Linked DNA regions of Homo sapiens: regions 1, 3 and 4 are each linked to region 2. The links are contacts of gene promoters, found by promoter capture Hi-C in blood cells and fetal thymus (Javierre and others, 2016). All regions are on one chromosome and are shown on one strand. Each heading gives the region's core, a stretch centred on a gene start or on the middle of the fragment in contact. The rest is flanking DNA. Distances are from core to core; before and after follow the strand shown. Region 1 overlaps HSPA9 (heat shock protein family A (Hsp70) member 9). Region 2 holds the start of KDM3B (lysine demethylase 3B). Region 3 overlaps CDC23 (cell division cycle 23). Region 4 overlaps BRD8 (bromodomain containing 8).

Region 1 (4,591 bases), core at 299-2,798, 210 kb before region 2:
CTTTTTTTCCAGTAGGGGGTAATGTTCTATATTGAAAGCCACAAGACTACACATTAAGCTTTTGTCCCTGTTAGGTATAAATTAGAACTTCCTATTTGAAGTGGCTGTTGTAAGTCTAAAGGTCATTGTAGTTTAGTGAACCTTCACTAAAATGTTGAAAGAGTGATCTTAGGGGTTTCTGTTTTTTGGGGTTTTTTTGTTGTTGTTTTTTGAGACAGAGTTTCACTCTTGTTGCCCAGGCTGGAGTGCAGTGGCACAATCTCGGCTCACCAAAGCCTCCGCCTCCCGGGTTCAAGCGATTATCCTGCCCTCTCCCTCCCCCCCAACGTAGCTGGGATTACAGGCATGCGCCATCATGCCTAGCCACTTTTGTGTTTTTAGTAAAGAGATGGGGGTTTCTTCATGTTGGTCAGGCTGGTCTCCAACTCCCGACAAATCAGGTGATTCATCCGCCTCAGCCTCTCAGAGTGCTGGGATTACAGGCATGAGCCACCGTGCCTGGCCGGCCGATCTTGGGTTTGTTTGTTTGTTTTGAGACAAGAGTCTCGCTCTGTCGCCCAAGCTAGAGTGCAGTGGTGCGATCTTGTCTCACTGCAACCTCCGCCTCCCAGGTTCAAACAATTCTCCCGCCTCAGCCTCCTGAGTAGCTGAAATGACAGGCATGCGCCACCATGCCTGAATAATTTTGTATTTTTAGTAGAGATGGGGTTTCTCCATATTGGTTAGGCTGGTCTCAAAACTCTCAACCTTAGGTGATCTGCCCGCCTCAGCCTCCCAAAGTGCTGGGATTACGAGTGTGAGCCACCGTGCCCGGCCTGATCTTGGGTTTTTAACCAGTGTATTTACTTGGAGTGTTTCCTGCAAGGACATATTAGGTCACTTACCAAAAGACTGAAGAATGTTGTCTGTGGCTGCAAAAGGATGACACAGGTTGTTGGGCTATATTAATAATTCTGTTCTGACAGAATTCCATGATTGAATTTCATTCTTTTCCAGAAAATTACTTGGGGCACACAGCAAAAAATGCTGTGATCACAGTCCCAGCTTATTTCAATGACTCGCAGAGACAGGTGAGGTCAATTAGCATTCTTATTCACAAAAAGTAAGGTGCCTGGGATGGAAGGGTACAAAAATGTTTTTCTCTTTGTTTTCTCTAGGCCACTAAAGATGCTGGCCAGATATCTGGACTGAATGTGCTTCGGGTGATTAATGAGCCCACAGCTGCTGCTCTTGCCTATGGTCTAGACAAATCAGAAGACAAAGTGTAAGTTTGTGCAGTAAATTTCTCACCTGGATGTGTGAAACTAAAGTGTCACTTAATTTTTTAGTAATTGAGCCTTTTACAGTGCTTTTACTGATTTTAAGTCTGTATTGTCTTTGTTTTTTCATTTCAAAACCATTCTTTTCTTTTCTTTTGGGCCATGGTAATTTAACTAGTACATATCTCAGGGAAATAGCTTAGATTATCTGTATTTGGTTATTGAAATTTATATCCTGGTGATAGGTTTTGTTCTTAAGGATTTCTTTTCTTTTTTTTTTCACAAATCATTTACAGCATTGCTGTATATGATTTAGGTGGTGGAACTTTTGATATTTCTATCCTGGAAATTCAGAAAGGAGTATTTGAGGTGAAATCCACAAATGGGGATACCTTCTTAGGTGGGGAAGACTTTGACCAGGCCTTGCTACGGCACATTGTGAAGGAGTTCAAGAGAGAGGTGAGTTACCAATGTGGTTAATATGTAGACGTTGGGATATTGAGAAATTCTTTGTTCAGATTGCTCTTTGCTTTGTTTACGAGTTCAGTTCAACCCCCTTATTCTAGACACAGATACTCTTTTCAGAATATTTTTTTTCCCTACACATTAAGGGTAATAAAAAGTAATTCATGCTTATATATAAAGGTATGACTCCATTTTGTGTTGTTCCACCTTATTACTGCAGTTTATTTATCACCTCACTAATGCTGGTGTTTGGTGTTCAATGTCTTCACTTTATAGACAGGGGTTGATTTGACTAAAGACAACATGGCACTTCAGAGGGTACGGGAAGCTGCTGAAAAGGCTAAATGTGAACTCTCCTCATCTGTGCAGGTGAGACACGGAAAATTCGAGCAGTCTTGATGGATATTTTCAGCCGGAGCTTATTTAAAATAAATAGTATTTTCTAATTGGCCTAATGTCAGTTGAGTTTTTTTTGTTTGTTTGTTTTTTCAGTTTTCTGGTTTCTAGAGACCTTTGCCATGAGCACAGGGACAGTAAGGTCTTTAGTTTCTTTATGAGCTGAAATTTTTTTAGCCACTCAAATCAGTTACATATACTGGAGCTAAATAATGTGTGAATGATGTGCTGGGTGTACTTGTTTGCCTTTCAGTTAAAGACATTTATTTTAAAACCTGCTCTGGCAGTGTTTAAAACTAGAATTACTAGCTTGGAAAAACTGCTGTCTTAACTGACAATATTAAATAACCTCTCTCCTTGTGAATTGGAGAGTCTCTGAGTGTCTTTTTTTTTTTTTTTTTTTTTTTTTTGAGACAGAGTTTTGCTCCTGTTGCCCAGGCTACAGTGCAATGGCGTGATCTTGGCTCACCGCAACCTCTGCCTCCTGGGTTCAAGTGATTTCTCCTGCCTCGACCTCCCAAGTAGCTGGGATTACAGGTGTGCACCACCATGCCTGGCTAATTTTTGTATTTATAGTACAGACAGGGTTCTGCCATGTTGGCCAGGTTGGTCCTTGGACTCCTGACCTCAGGTGATTGACCTGCCTCGGCCTCCCAAAGTGCTGGGATAATGGGCGTGAGCCACTGAGCCCGGCTAATTGTCTCTCACTTAATAATTTGAAAAATTAGCTGGTCATAGTCTATACAACTGTGGTCCCAGCCACTCCAGAGGCTAAGAGGATTGTTTGAGCCCAGGAGGTTGAGGCTGCAGTGAGCCGTGATCACACCATTTCACTCCAGCCTGGGTGACAAATGAGACCCTGTGTCAAAAAATGACAATAATTTGAATCACCAGTCTAGAAAAAGAGCTGAAGCTTGTGCAAGTTTCCGTCTGTGAGCATCAGATTTACACAGCCTCTTTGTCAGTTTGGTTAGCTCCAGTTCTGAGAGGTGAAACTTGTCTTCACCACCAAGAATAGAATTATATAAACCATTTTAGATCTGTGTTAGAGACCCATGAAGATAGAAAGCAGCAGATCTATTTCCGGTGTCTTGGGTGACAGCAGGAAAAGCAGAGCGGTGACACCTTTATTTTGATCACCCACAAGGGAAGAGGTATTTATGATGGTTGTCACTGTGGTTGCTGCTAATGAACCTTCCCCTCAAACCTGGATTTTTTTTTTTAAGTGGCTGTGAGGAGTGACATAGTTATACACACGCATCCATGGTCTTGCTGATGTTACTTTGCCCCTGCTATCATGGAGTGGCAGAACATTGCAACGTTGGTTAGGGTTGAGGTTGAAATACCTGGCACTGCCAGAAGATAATTCTTCCCAGGGATTTGACATTTGGGGTAGGGGATGCGAGGTGTTGGAAGAGATTGGTTGGTTTTAATTAGTGTGGCTGCATCCTATTGATAGACATTTTGATTGTTTTCCAGTGTTTATTATAGCAAGATGTATTGAGCATCCTTACACATTCAGTTTTGCATAGGTGATTTTAAATCTATAGAATAAATTCTTAGCGTTTATTACCCTCATGCAGATTATATTGTGGTTTGGAAAGATGGACATTAATTAGAACAGATTAGTAAACGTTAAACTAGAAGTGATACAAAGTAAAGGTTAAGGGTGGTTCTGCAAGCATTCTGCTGGGGTTCAAGTCCCCCTTGTATTGCTTATTAATTGGTGATCTTGGATGAATTAACATTACTGTTACTTATCTACAAAACAAGGATAATAGTGGTACTCTTCCCCTAAGAGTTGTGAGCATTACCAAGTTCATAAATATTACATGCTTAGGAAAACATAGGAAATTGTGAATACTCTAAATGTAAGTTACTATTAATGTAACAAGTGGTAAAAATGCAGTTACAATTTAAGAAGGGGCCTCACTTTGGGTGGCCAGGGCAGGAATATCACTTGAGCTCAGGAATTGGGGACCAGCCTGGGCAAAATAGTGAGAACCCCCGTCTCTACAAAACTAGCTGGGCGTGGTGCACTACACCACAGGTGCGTGCCTGTAGTCCCAGCTACTCAGGAGACTGAGGCACAAGAATCTTTTGAGCCCAAGTGTTTGAGGCTGCAGTGAGCTGTGAATGCCACTGCACCCCAACCTGGGTGACAGAGCAGGTCTCTTAAAAGCAATCTAAGAAGGGGCCGCACGCAGTGGCTCACATCTGTAATCTCAGCACTTTGGGAGGCCAAGGCCGGTGAATCACTTGAGGTCAGGAGTTCCAGACCAGCCTCGCCAACACGGTGAAACCGTGTCTCTACTAAAAATACAAAAATTAGCCAAGTGTGGTTGCAGGTGCCTGTAATCCCAGCTACTCAGTAGGCTGAGGCAGGAGAATCGCTTGAACCCAGGAGGCAGAGGTTGCAGTGAGCCCAGATGGCACCACTGCAGTCCAGTCTGGGTGACTGAATGAGACTC
Region 2 (4,389 bases), core at 1,643-4,142:
GGGGGAAAAGCTGTTTTCATGCCTTGGCTAAACATCTGAGTAATTTGTCAGCATGGCTTCTGCTGGTGAAGATGTCCACCTATGAGAACCTTATCAACAAAACTCTCAATCAACAGGATCCTGACTCCTTTTTTTCACATCTCACCTTAAGGTAGCACTTGGCTTTGTTACTGTTTTCCAAAAAAGGTTTCATTTAATGGATCAGTACTGTATTTTATAGGATATCTGAATCAAAAAGTATTTAGAAAGAGATGTATTCGTGGAATCTAAAATTAAGAAGTGTGTTTTCAATCACTTCAGAAACTCATTCATCCAACCCTCAATTACTCATCCTTAAAAGGGGGCGCCCTGCTAGGCATTACTCAAAACCAAGCATGCCTGAAAACATCTTAAACATAACTGAATGAAAATCTGCCCAATCACAGGCCAGCTGCTTGCAAACTCCACCCTTGAGTACGGGAAGAACACTTTTGATTGGAAGACAGTTGTGTTTACTACCGTGTGTGGTGCAAATTGGAAAGGTCCACATGCCTACGGTCCAAAGGAAATCTCTCTTAATGAGAAAAAAAGAAAACGGCCCATTCTCATCCTACACTGGTCATTGTCATTAATAGAACCTCAACAAAATACCAATTCTTGAACAATTTTGCAAGCTGGTGAAAAAATCTAAAGGCTCTGAGTTTTGGTCTGGCTGTTTTCTCATCTATGTCCCTGGATATACATGTAAGACAAGCATAAATGTATTCTCAAAATACAAACCTGCCTTTGCTTCTACATTCACACAGCCCTATGCAAGACCTCAACACAGCTGTAATGTTCTTTGCTTTAATTTCCAAGAATCACTGCAACTTTTTACTTGGTTTGAGAACCCAGTTCCGTGGGATCAGTGGTAAAATTATTCAGTATTTAGCTTAGTGGGTGTCCAGCAAGGAAGTGAGCTCCAAAATCCTCTGCCCTTAGGGAGCACAGCAAACGACAAAGTGAATGGGGAGCCATTTCAGGTGCAGAGCTCATTAGCAATTCATCTGATGGAGGAAACGAGACGACCACTGCAAGAACCAGAAAAAAATCCCAATGAATAGCTAGGGCAAAGTAGGCCTTCGGTCAAAGTATGCATATAATAGTGGATCTTAAGTATGTTTTGCCTCCAAGGTGGTAGAATGAATCTGAAATGGACACTTCTTTTCCCATCCCAGCCATCTTTTAAAGAAAGCGCAGAGGAATAGAGATCCAAATCCCAGTCTTAATCATCATTCCATCCCCTTAAATTTTTAGTATCTTTTTGCAAATTTGCCCCACTGAGGCCTTATAAATGTCCTAGTAACGTTTCTTATACAGCATGAAGAAAAATCAAAGCAAATGAACCCAAGTAGCAGAAGCAAAGCCTAAGCCATCCACAAAAAAAATCCATAAAGCTTGTATATTAGTGAAAAAGGACAGTCTAACACCGTTGATCAATAGGAAGAAAAATGAACATCGGAAGCCTACAACATTACTTCCAAATCTCACAAACTGCGTTCCCGTTTATATCTGCAAAAGCAAGTTCATCAAGAAAATTTACTTTCTGCTTGCTGATCTATTACATTCCAAAAGACCACCCCCTGCCCCAACACGCACACACACCATTTTTCATAGCCTTATCTCACCAGAGAAGCTAGGGCCCCTATCAAAATGAGGAAATAAAGTGGCTTGCCAAAACTCAAACACTATATTTTACCGCCACATTAACGAGAATAACACATCATGATCCCGAATGCTAGTTAAGTTGTATGACTGAACAACTTTAATCACAAAACACACCAAGGCATTCAAAAAGGGCCAAGCCCAAACACAAAGTTTCAAAACAAAACCTCTCCCAAGGTTGGGGGAGTAGCTGAGCTGGGAGCAAAAAGCACTACCCAGCAGCCCCGTTCGGCCACTAAGAAAGATCTCAAACTTAACAAAAACAGCCACAACTGCAGCTCCTGTCACCCAGAAGCGTTAAGGAAAGGAGAGGAGAGCTCGAGACAGTGCCGAGAGCTGGCCTTTCTGGAGACCGCCAGGCCGAGCCCAGCTCAGATGAGGAAGTAACTGCCAGATAAAAAAGCCCCGACCAGCTCCAACTGCAGCCTCCGTGCCTCCCATAACTGCCCACATTCCCGCCCCACTTGGGGCTCTGGGAGAAAAGGAACAGGGCGCAGGTCTCCTGGGAGAGGCTGGGGACCACAGGTCCGCGTCTTCGAGAGGGCAGCGGCAACACTGGCCGAACTCTGAGGCTCCCGGGAGCTCAAGATTCGAGAGCCTGCTCCGAAGGCGTGTTGGGGGGAACGCCGAGAAAAGGGTCGCCCAGGAGGCGGGGCCTGCTGGCTGCAAGCAGCAGCTCCGGACGCCCTGGCCGCCCCCCGGGGGAAACCGGGGCGCACACCCCGACGCGGAAGCCATGCCGGCAAGCGCTCGGGGTGCGGAGGTGCCGGCGGGGGGCGCTAAGGAGACCCGGGGGCACGGAAATGGGTCACCCCCATCCCACCGCCCCCTCACAAAGGCCCCCGGGGAGGCCGCCCGCAGGCCCCGCAGCCCCGGCCTCGAGTGCCCGACTCGGCCGCCACTCACCGCTAGGTCCTGGGGCACCGCCCCGCTCATGGCCCGCACCGTGCCGGCCCGCCAGGCTCGAGTGCGCAGCGCAGGCCCCGGATCTCCGCTCGCCGCTGCCGCCGCGGGAGCCGAGGCCGAGGCTGAGGCCGCAGTGTCCGCGAACAGCAGCAGCAGCCGCTTGCCCACCGGGGAGGCCGCCGCGTCCGCCATCGCCGGGGCCGGCCTGACCCGCGCTCCCGCCCGCCGCCTCCCACCACCTCCGCCGCCAAGCGCCCGATCCGCCCGCAAGGCCTCCCTCCGCACCACCCGCGGCCGCCGTTCCCCCCCACCCCCCCCAACAGCCACCACCAACCACCGGCGCAGCGCAGCGCCCCCCGTGGCCGGGAGCGGAGCCGCAGCCTGGGCCCCGCACAGCGCCCCCCGCGCTCTGGAGCGGGGCGACAGCTCCTGGCCCCTCGCAGCGCTCCGCCCCAATCTCCCCGGGGCCTGCAGTGCCCCCTGCGGTCTGGAGGGGAATTGCAGGTCCGGCCGGGGTAGGGAAGTGGGCGGGTCCTTCAGCTTCCCCATGGCATCATCCCTGGTCTCAATCTTCCTTCAGGGAGTCGTATATATGAGAGGGCTTTAGCTTGCTCTCCTCGGATACCAAAGACATTTACGGGGTAAGGGGGTGAGGGGCAAGGTACCTAGAGAGTGGATGTTTTGAGCTATTTAGTGTCTCCAATACCCCCATTGATTTCCTATCCTGAAAATATGAGCTCCTACCTGCTGTCTTGTAGGAAATGTTCTCCCCATTGGTCCATGAGACACAATGTCTTCCTTCTCAATGGCCCATAACAGCACCATCCCATTCTATACTGCCAGCACTTCTTAGGTTCCTTTCCAATTGGCCAATGTATTACTTCCATTGGATGTATAATGCCACTCTTTCCACTGACTGAAGGCCAACGTGCCCCCCAACATCTTGGTGTTTTTCCTAAAACCGACCTAACTTCTTCCCCTTCCTAGTCTGCCAATGTTATTAAGTCTACGTGTTTCTCCATTCAACTCTTAGGGGAACTGGAAATAGACCAACAGTAAAGGGGTTCTCTTAGTAGCACTCCATCTTACCATGGAATTAGTGGGGCTGGGGGCAAAGAAAATTCTGTAACTCTTATCTGAATGCATTTAATACAGGTGTGGGAGACTGATAGCTCCTGATTAGAAAAGGAGCCTGCAGAGAAAGTGAGATGCTGAGATTTTTGGCTAGATTGTTACCCACAATAAGCAACAGGAAATTGCCTCAATCATTTAAAGCTGGCAATATCAGGGACTAGCACATTCCATGGTCTCATGGATGCAGAGACTGAGTATACACAAAATGGATACAAAAGATAAAGGGTATAGTAATAACCCATGACTGTTGTTCTAAAAGTGACTTTTTGATTTTCCCTACAGACAGGAAATAGTGGTAGCTGGTTCTTTCTCCAAGGCTTCTGTGCCTACCCCAGCTATCTCCTGTCCATAACCTTGTCTACACCCTTGACCTACTTTTCTTGTAACAAAGGCTTGGGGAGAGGGGTAACCAACTATTGACTTTATACTTTTACTAAAGTATAAAACATATAGGAAAATCATTCTAGAACCAACCCTGTGGAGCACCAAGGAAACATTCCTCCCTCCACTTCTTTTTAACTTCCATCTCCCACAGCCAACCTGAGGCCTGACTCAGAATGTTTTTCTGGGCTGAGAGCCACCTCTTAAAGCACATGGCCCATAAGCTGTAGTTGGTAGGAGGGGAACAAGGGTGAATCCATACAAGATCTATCTGCCTTGCAATTT
Region 3 (4,610 bases), core at 631-3,130, 160 kb after region 2:
AAAAAATTGAGTTGCTTGGTATCTTTTTTTTTTTTTTTGTAATTTATAGATAGGATCTTGCTGTGATGACCAGGTTGGTCTTGAAGTCATTGGTCTCAGCCAGATTAGAGAGTAGCTAGGATTATGGCCCTATGCCACCATGCCTGGCCACTTGTTATCTTTTTTTTTTGAGACGGAGTCTTGCTCTGTCACGGAGGCTAGAGTGCAACCTCTGCCTCCTGGGTTCAAATGATTCTCCTGCCTCAGTCTCCCGAGTAGCTGGCATTACAGGCGCTTGCCACCACACCTGGCTAATTTTTGTATTTTTTAGTAGAGACAGAGTTTTGCCATGTTGGCCAGGCTGGTCTTGAACTCCTGATCTCTGATGACCCACCCGCCTTGGCCTCCCAAAGTGCTGGGATTACAGGTGTGAGCCACAGTGCCCAGCTTTTTTTTTTTTTTTTCTTTTTTTGGAGTCAGAGTCTCATTCTGTGGCCCAGGCTGGAGTGTAGTGGTATGATCTTGGCTCACTGCAACCTCCACCTTCCAAGTTAAAGCAATTCTCCTGCTCCAGCTTCCTGAGTAGGTGGGATTACAGGCATGTGTCACAACGCCCGGCTAATTTTTCTACTTTTAGTAGAGATGAGGTTTCACCTTGTTGGCCATGCTGGTCTCAAACTCCTGACCTCAAGTGATCTGCCCTCCTTGGCCTCCCAAAGTGCTGGGATTACAGGCATGAGCCACTTTACTCTGGGTATTACTAGATAATTTTTGCAAGGATGGTTTATCTAGCTTAGATATTAATATTTACTGACTCTCCTTCCATCATTAGCAGAGTAATGATTCTAAGCTTTGATAACAGTAACTATCACATCTAATACTATTCTAGTTCCAAGAGTGTCATTTATGTCAAAATTGATACTTACCTATGTATTGTTTTTTTTGGTCTTATGTACTTTTACTTTTTTTATCACTAAGTTGCTTTGGGATATCATTGGTATTTAAAGATCAGTTTCTTTTGTAGGCTTCATGAACAGTTGACTGAGTCAGAACAGGCTGCCCAGTGTTACATCAAATATATCCAAGATATCTATTCCTGTGGGGTATGTATCATACCATGAGAATTGTACTGCTGATATTATTACTGTCACCTCAGTAATTTTGCTTTCCCTTTCTAGGAAATAGTAGAACACTTGGAGGAAAGCACTGCCTTTCGCTATCTGGCCCAGTACTATTTTAAGTGCAAACTGTGGGATGAAGCTTCAACTTGTGCACAAAAGTGTTGTGCATTTAATGATGTGAGTATCAGTTCTTTAATAAAAGGTTTGAATTTTAGGCTAGAACATAAGATATTTAAGTGGAAAGCCTACCTTGGCCAGGCAAGCGGCTCACACCTATAATCCCAACACTTTGGGAGGCTGAGGCAGGAGGATCGCTTGTGTCCAGGAGTTCAAGACCAGCCTGGACAAAAAAGGGAGAGCTTGTCTCTACAAAAATTAAATTTTGCCAGGTTTGGTGGTGCATGCCTGTGGTCCCAGCTACTCAGGAGGCTGAGGTGAGAGGATCACTTGATCCTCTGCAGTGAGGTCGAGGCTGCAGTGAGCCTTGATCACACCACTGCACTGTAGCCTGGGTGACACAGTGAGACTCCATCTCAAAAAAAAAAAACAAGCAAGCCTCCCGCCTCCTTGATCTGTGGAACTTGTTTAACAGCATCTTAATAACTTGTTTTCGAGACTAGCTTTGGACATGTTTTGAAACATTTCCCTGACTTTGTTGCAGACCCGGGAAGAAGGTAAGGCCTTACTCCGGCAAATCCTACAGCTTCGGAACCAAGGCGAGACTCCTACCACCGAGGTGCCTGCTCCCTTTTTCCTACCTGCTTCACTCTCTGCTAACAATACCCCCACACGCAGAGTTTCTCCACTCAACTTGTCTTCTGTCACGCCATAGTTGGCTACTCTCAAGCCAGCACATTGTTAGACCCATCTTAATTAAGCCTTACCTCCATGTAAAGAACAGCACGTCTGTTCCAAGGACCTCAGCTCTTCTTGTTTCTACAGATGGCAACAGCTCCATAGGGACAGCTTGTATAATTACCTTCAGAGGCCAACTGACAGAATCCTGGCAGGAACAGACATTATCTTGCCAGTTAGAAGTACTTCTGTCTCACTTATGTCCAAAGAGTGGCTATAGATCTTGGCCTTCTTCCCTGAATGCTTTTTTTTTTTGGCCCCCAAGAAAGTCCCTTTTATAGCACTTTAGCACAGGCAATGCTACAGGAACAAAGTTTCAATGCTGCTGAGAGTGAAAGAAAGGAGGAAAGTCTGCCACTCTACCCTGAGCTGGCAGTAGGGCACTGAGTACCCTAGGAAGAAGTCAGAGCAATGGATACAAATGACCTTGCTCTTGGATTTGCTGAGCATGATCCCTATTCTGATGTCAGAGATTAGGTTTAAATGGAATAGAGCTATCCATTTGTTCTTACTCTCTAGGGAGACAATCTTCCAAAACAGTTTTGGGGGGGTCTTCTAAAGCTTTCAAATTGGAAGTAACTTTATTCAACTAGAGTTGAATAAAAGAAGGGCAAAAATAATCTCACAGAGCTTGGAACTGCTGATAGCCCTTACTGAGGGCAAAAGATGGCTATATTGTTAGCTATACTCCTACCAAAGCAAGCAAGGAGATAGGATTATAGATAATTTCACGGACATTTGGAAATAACATTGGTGATTATACAGACAAGAATAAACTCACTTCAAGCTGGTCTGTTTTAATAAATTTTCAACGTAATTGTCTATTTTTTTCCCTCCCATCTGCAACAGAATACATTTTTTTCAGCCTTTATCTAGATGAGGTAAAGGGAATCATTCTTATGGTGCTCTTGGAGAGTTTCAGGCCTGTGCATGTGTGTACAGCAGGAGGTAATATGCTATAATGTCTGCTGTAATATATTTGCACAGTAGATGCTATGGATCATTCTGAGCTCAGGGTCCAGACTTTATTCTTATTCCCAGAATTTTGTGTTACGTTTTTACCTCCTAACATATGACACTTCATCTTATATTAAGGAAGGTTTAGAATATCTAATACGACTTGAATTCATTTGTTACTAAGCCTTCTCAGGCAAGCTGTATACTAGTTACTGGTCTCCACTGCCATGCCTTTTCAAGGTTCCCATGGTCCAGAATGATGTTTGATTCTTAATTTTTCTGTCCCTTTTATAATTTGTTTTAATGATTTTGCTACATTTGGAATTCAATAAAAAATGTGAACAATAATATCTTTAATATAACTGTTTTTGTGTGCATAGAAATCATATAAGTAAATAAAAAAAAACAACAACATGAGATTACATAGGTGGTTATAATACAAAAGTGAGAAAAAAGCTAGTGTCTGAGTATTGCATCCTGGATATAATTCCTGATATATGGTAAAGCATAAAAGAGACCTATTTCTTCAGGAGAGTAGCTGACCCACCTCAGGGCCATGACTGCTCTTCTCTTTCCCCACAGCCTTAGTACTTTTTGCCAAAAGGCCCAGATTTGAGTAAAGGGGAACGCCGTGAGCGTAGGATCCGGGCATAAGGGCTGCAGTCTGTTGAGCTTTGGCAGGTTGGTGTTCGGGGAAGTAAATTTCGAAGGAATGGTTTCTTCCCTGGTGGTTGTTGGTTTGGTTGCTGATTTTCCTGGTTGGTACCAAGGCGCTTTTTGGCAGAAACCTGGCCTTGGAGTTTCAACACAGTATGATACTGCTCAGCAATACATGCTGCCTTCTTCCGAAGGTCCAGTTTCACTAGCACCATGTTGTTCTGCAGTTCAGCCAGAGTCTGGTCCTAAGGAAGATCAATAAAGTTATAGAAAACACTTTTGTCTGGTATATTAGAGAAACGAGAGGGCTAAGGGTAATACATACCATCCATTACTAGTTACTAACAACTGTTTCTTCAAAGATTAAAACTCTTTAAGGTCGGAGCTTATAACTGAATAAGGGGACATTTTCTGAGAACAAAACATAAGCAGTGCTGAATAGGACATCTTCTAACACATAAGGTAGTATGAGCTTGAGTAAATTTAATTTCTAAGTGCCTCAGTCTCTAAATGTCAAATTAAATGTTGAGTTTAGTTTAAGATACACAATTTTAACATTTTAATCTCTTTGGAATCAGGATGCATCTTACTGATGAGAAATTGTTACTTTTTTCTTAGTAGTACATAAAATAATGGTTTCTTATAATCAGTAGCATCTTAGATGAAATATGACAGTAACTACCTCCCTAAGGTGGTTGTGACAGAAAATGCCTATAAATTACTTAGCACAGTGCCTGGTACTTAGTAAATGCTTAACAAAGAATAGTTATTTTTATTTTGCAAATATACTGCTCTCACTATAAATTCAGCCTAAAAATCTTTACCTTTTTCTTCTGGTCCTCTTTCCTTTCTCACATATACACTGGAGTGGGCTGGTAGGACAGAAGTGGGTATATAGTTTGCCCTAACCTGTTTGATTAAGATGTCATCACAAGTGGTCAAGGCTTGACGAAGTTTTCCTGCCCCAGTGCTGTGGCAACAAGCTCTCTCTGCTGATTGGAGAGACTCACCAAGTTTCTGAAGCTCTGTCCGCAACAGCCT
Region 4 (4,701 bases), core at 1,142-3,641, 190 kb after region 2:
TCCATCTCTAGAAGTGTTAAAGCTTTCTAATCCAAACTTATTATGCTGCTTTAGTAATGCAACATACCTATTTGTCCTTTATTGTATAATAGCAGACTAGTGTCAAGTTTCATTTATTTAATCTTGAAGATTTGGACATTGTTCTCTTTTATGTTCTAGCTCGTCAAGCAGTAAAAACACCCCCCCGGAGGTTACCCACTGTGATGGTTCGCTCTCCTATAGATTCTGCCTCCCCAGGAGGTGATTATCCACTTGGGGACTTGACTCCAACCACTATGGAAGAGGCTACCTCTGGGGTGAGTATATTTCCATCTGTGGGAATTGATCAGTGAAGGGGCAATAAGCCGGCAGAGCTGAGCGATGAGGAAACCACTTTTGGCCTAGAGGCAACTTCCTCTCTTGATCTGAATGCTAAAGACTTAATTTACCATGTTCTGTGCTCTGAGATAAGAACGGACCTAAAAGCATTGAGGCTTTTGACCTTTTTGAGAGATAGGTAAAAAACTATTTTAAGAAATTGTTTCATACTAGTCTTATGAAATTCCTGCTGAAATAAGGGACAAAATCCTTGTAAATGTAATATTGGTAGTGGGTAAGGAGTTCATAAAAGGCAGGTTGGGTGGGATGGTTGAGTCACTGTGGGTTTGAGTGGATGAAAGAGAAGATTGTGGGGAAGAAAAGTATGGCTAAGAGCAGGAGGGATAGAGGGTTTCTGGGCAATTCCACTCAGGACTAATAAAATAATAGTTAGACACACTAACCCATACAGATTAGTAGGGAACCTTCCATAGTTTGAGAAGTCAGATAAAGGTTCTCTGTTGTCTCTTAGGTAACCCCCGGGACTTTGCCGAGTACCCCAGTCACCTCGTTTCCTGGGATTCCTGACACCCTTCCTCCAGGCTCTGCACCCTTAGAAGCCCCCATGACCCCAGTAACAGATGATTCACCCCAGAAAAAGATGCTTGGACAGAAAGCAACTCCACCCCCCTCCCCTCTGCTGTCAGAGCTCTTGAAGAAGGGCAGCCTCCTGCCTACTAGCCCCAGACTGGTATGGAGACTTCTGTGGGTGTTTGAGAGCTGTGGTGATTTAGTACTTGGAAGGGAGTGCCTGGGACCTAAAATGTGACATGGGGAATAAAAGTTCAAAAGAGGAAAAGATCTCCTAATTAAATGTTAATTTTTTAAAAATACAGTAAGTTGATAGTACCCATGGGTCCTGAGGTATCTGAATCACAATTATTTTGGTTCTCTTCTCCAGAGAACTCTTGTCAAATAAGTTTTGAACATTATAGTTTAGAGTTTCCCTTGGGTCTTAAATTATTCTCTGTGGATATTAGCTATTAGTTTTCATGAAGTTTGATCAACTGCTGGAGCTTTGTTGGGAAATGGTAGTGAAGGAAAGCTTGAGTGTAGCCTTCACCTCTATTCTTCCCTGGTAGGTCAATGAGAGTGAAATGGCTGTGGCTTCTGGCCACCTGAACAGTACAGGTGTCCTCCTGGAGGTAGGCGGGGTCCTTCCCATGATACATGGTGGGGAGATACAGCAAACACCCAATACTGTTGCAGCCTCCCCTGCTGCATCAGGTAAGTTACCACTTTTCCTTTATCAACCTCAAAGGTGTTGAACTTGACATTGACTGACCTCAGTTTCACTGTTACTAAGCAGTTGTCAGTGCTAGATTTAAAGCCCAACTTTTTCTAACTTTTTTTTGGAGCTACTTTACCTGGTAAACAATGTAGTCTCCATATTATAAAGCCATCTATCTTCAAGATAGTGATAGCCCTGATTGACCACAGCATGGATATTGAGAGTAATATTGAACTGCTTTCTTAGGGCTTGCAAAATCAAGGTGCTAGAGATACCTAAGATTATAGAATAGTGGAATAAGATTTGGAACCAGAGAATTGGGCTTGAATCTCAGGCCTGCCACACATTGGTTTTGTGACCTTGGATAGGTAACTTAGCTTTTGAGCCTCAGTTTCCTTTTTTATTGTAACATATATACTTCACAAGGATGTGATGAGAATTTAATGAGGTAGAAAGTATAAAGCAGGGAAATAAAAAAAGCTCCATAGAATACCATACAAACCTTATTGGTATTTGAATGGTGTTGAACTTGGGTGGTTTACAATATGCTGAACTTCAGCAGAAGCGACAGATTTATTCATACCAGTTTTTCGTTTCTTGGTGATTAATTTTCCTCTGAGGAAAAATTACCACCCTTTGTTGTTGTTGTTGTTGTTTTTTTTGAGACAGAGCCTTGCTCTGTCGCCCAAGCTGGAGTGTGGTGGCACAATCTTGGCTCACTGCAATCTCCACCTCCTGCGTTCAAGCAGTTCTCCTGCCTCAGCCTCCTGAATAGCTGGGATTACAGCACCCACCACCACGCCTAGCTAATTTTTTTTTTTTTTTTTTTTTTTTTTTTGTATTTTTAGTAGAGGCAGGGTTTCGCTATGTTGCCCAGGCTGGTCTCAAACTCTTGACCTCAAGTGACCCACCTGCCTCGGCCTCCCAAAGTGCTAGCATTACAGGCGTGAGCCACTGCACCTAGCCTTACCACCCATTTTTTATATATGTTGTGTGTTCTAGTGCTTTGGTTCATTCCTAACTTGGAGGAAGATCTTAAGTAAGGTTAGAGTAAGGATATAGATGATGAACTTATTCAATGCAGGAGTTGCTCTCATCCTTTGAGACCATAAGAATTTTCTTAGTTGAGTCTTCAAGTAGCTATTGCTTCTTATTTATGTGCTTTCTTCTTACTTCATTTTGTGTACCTCTTTATATGTTAGGTGCTCCCACTCTTTCCCGGCTTTTAGAAGCTGGTCCTACACAGTTCACCACACCTCTTGCTTCCTTCACTACTGTTGCCAGTGAGCCTCCAGTTAAACTTGTGCCACCCCCTGTAGAGTCTGTGTCCCAAGCTACCATTGTCATGATGCCTGCGCTGCCAGCACCATCCTCTGCTCCGGCTGTCTCCACTACTGAAAGTGTAGCTCCAGGTGCGTCCCTGAGCAGCCACTAGATCTAAAATTTCATTTTGAGCTTTAGTTAGAGAAAAATGACCAAGAGCATCAGCTCCGATTCAGATGCTTCTTCTCTGTTCTACATAGACATGTGCCATCTTTATCCTTAGAAATAAATATCCTTAGAAATAGATGTGAGAAGAGGTGGGTGGGCATTTATGTATTGCAGGAAGAGGCTAAGTATACAGATATGAGCAGGCTTGAAAATATGTTCTCACCTTTCTAGATAAAACTGGGGAGAAGAAAACATAGGCACATGTTGATGACTCTTTCTGACCTTAAGTGTTTGGATATTTGACATCTGTCTGTAGCGCTTATGTGATCTCAAGGTGGTCGCTTTGTACCCAATAAGCTTCTGAGATGCTTTTCTCTTTCTGTTACTCAGTGAGTCAACCCGACAACTGTGTTCCCATGGAGGCTGTGGGGGATCCACATACTGTGACTGTTTCCATGGACAGCAGTGAAATATCCATGATCATCAATTCTATCAAAGAAGAGTGTTTTCGATCAGGGGTAGCAGAGGCTCCTGTTGGATCAAAGGCTCCCAGCATAGATGGGAAGGAAGAATTAGATCTGGCTGAGAAGATGGATATTGCTGTGTCTTACACAGGTGAAGAGCTGGATTTTGAGACTGTTGGAGACATCATTGCCATCATTGAGGACAAGGTAACTATTCAGCGAAGCCCCAGAGAATCTCATGGGTCCTACATAGGCTTCTCTTTTCAGCCTCACTTTGGTGCTGCTGCTGCTTTTTTTTTTTTTTTTTTGGAGACAGAGTCTTGCTCTTTCATCCAGGCTGAAGTGCAGTGGCACGATCTTGGCTTACTGTTACCTCTGCCTCCCAGCCTCAAGTAATTCTTGTGCCTCAGCCTCCTGAGTAGCTGGGACTACAGGCACATGCCACCACGCCTCACTAATTTTTTGTATTTTTAGTAGAGATGAGTTTTACCATGTTGGCCAGGCTGGTCTCAAACTCCTGGCCTCAAGTGATCCACCCACCTCGGCCTCCCAAAGTGCTGAGATTACAGGCATGAGCCACCATACTCGGCTGCTTTGCTTCTTACAGTAAGAATTACTTAAACAACTCTCCTACTTCTGCCCATCTCCATCTTTGTAGCCCTTTGGTGCTAACATACTAGTCATCTCCTCAGGTCTACCCATGTTACTGGTTTGCACAGGACAGGTGCCTCTTCATTGTTTGCCTCCACTACATGGAAAAAATGGAGCGAAAAGCTGCAGATTCAAGCCATCACATTTGGTGCTAACAAAAATTGAAGGACTTGGGCTTCTTTCTGTGACCTCAATAGTCTTGTGTTTTGTGGGACAGGTAGATGATCATCCTGAAGTGCTGGATGTGGCAGCAGTGGAAGCAGCACTGTCATTTTGTGAAGAAAATGATGATCCTCAGTCCCTGCCTGGCCCCTGGGAGCATCCTATCCAGCAGGAGCGGGACAAGCCAGTACCTCTCCCTGCACCAGAAATGACGGTCAAGCAAGAGAGACTGGACTTTGAGGAAACGGAAAACAAGGGAATACATGAACTGGTGGACATCAGGGAGCCCAGTGCAGAGATCAAGGTGGAACCTGCAGAACCAGAGCCAGTCATTTCAGGAGCCGAAATAGTAGCTGGAGTTGTTCCAGCCACAAGTATGGAGCCACCAGAACTCAGGAGTCAGGA

The links. The method cuts DNA at HindIII sites, captures the fragments that hold promoters and counts their contacts. A CHiCAGO score of 5 or more calls a contact.
Region 1: a fragment that was not itself captured here is called in contact with the fragment with the promoter of KDM3B in region 2 in 1 of 17 cell types (neutrophils); the score reaches 5.3 in neutrophils.
Region 3: a contact is called between a fragment that was not itself captured here and the fragment with the promoter of KDM3B in region 2, in 6 of 17 cell types (megakaryocytes, neutrophils, total B cells and 3 more). The highest score is 7.8, in megakaryocytes.
Region 4: a fragment that was not itself captured here is called in contact with the fragment with the promoter of KDM3B in region 2 in 1 of 17 cell types (neutrophils); the score reaches 5.8 in neutrophils.

Annotation. Positions count from the first base shown.
Region 1 is chr5:138,564,128-138,568,718 of GRCh38, reverse strand. It overlaps HSPA9 (heat shock protein family A (Hsp70) member 9), which reads left to right. Exons shown (of 17, transcript NM_004134.7): 6 at 997-1,070; 7 at 1,158-1,264; 8 at 1,556-1,718; 9 at 2,001-2,093. Among named protein-coding and RNA genes, the nearest start is that of SNORD63, 5.3 kb to the right of the region's middle. The HindIII fragment of the contact is 2,975 bases long and covers 61-3,035 here.
Region 2 is chr5:138,351,188-138,355,576 of GRCh38, reverse strand. KDM3B (lysine demethylase 3B) reads right to left here and starts at 2,892. Exons shown (of 24, transcript NM_016604.4): 1 at 2,590-2,892. The coding sequence starts at 2,781. RefSeq lists an enhancer at 1,953-2,052 and silencers at 2,303-2,772, 2,853-3,092, 3,113-3,192. The HindIII fragment of the contact is 3,421 bases long and covers 1,418-4,389 here.
Region 3 is chr5:138,186,300-138,190,909 of GRCh38, reverse strand. It overlaps CDC23 (cell division cycle 23), which reads left to right. Exons shown (of 16, transcript NM_004661.4): 14 at 1,004-1,082; 15 at 1,158-1,277; 16 at 1,762-3,260. The coding sequence ends at 1,932. KIF20A (kinesin family member 20A) reads right to left here. Exons shown (of 19, transcript NM_005733.3): 18 at 4,479-4,610; 19 at 3,187-3,814. The coding sequence ends at 3,497. Among named protein-coding and RNA genes, the nearest start is that of KIF20A, 9.5 kb to the right of the region's middle. The HindIII fragment of the contact is 1,277 bases long and covers 1,242-2,518 here.
Region 4 is chr5:138,164,817-138,169,517 of GRCh38, reverse strand. BRD8 (bromodomain containing 8) reads left to right here. Exons shown (of 27, transcript NM_139199.2): 8 at 160-296; 9 at 1,440-1,584; 10 at 2,791-3,000; 11 at 3,410-3,690; 12 at 4,352-4,701. Among named protein-coding and RNA genes, the nearest start is that of BRD8, 11 kb to the left of the region's middle. The HindIII fragment of the contact is 1,974 bases long and covers 1,405-3,378 here.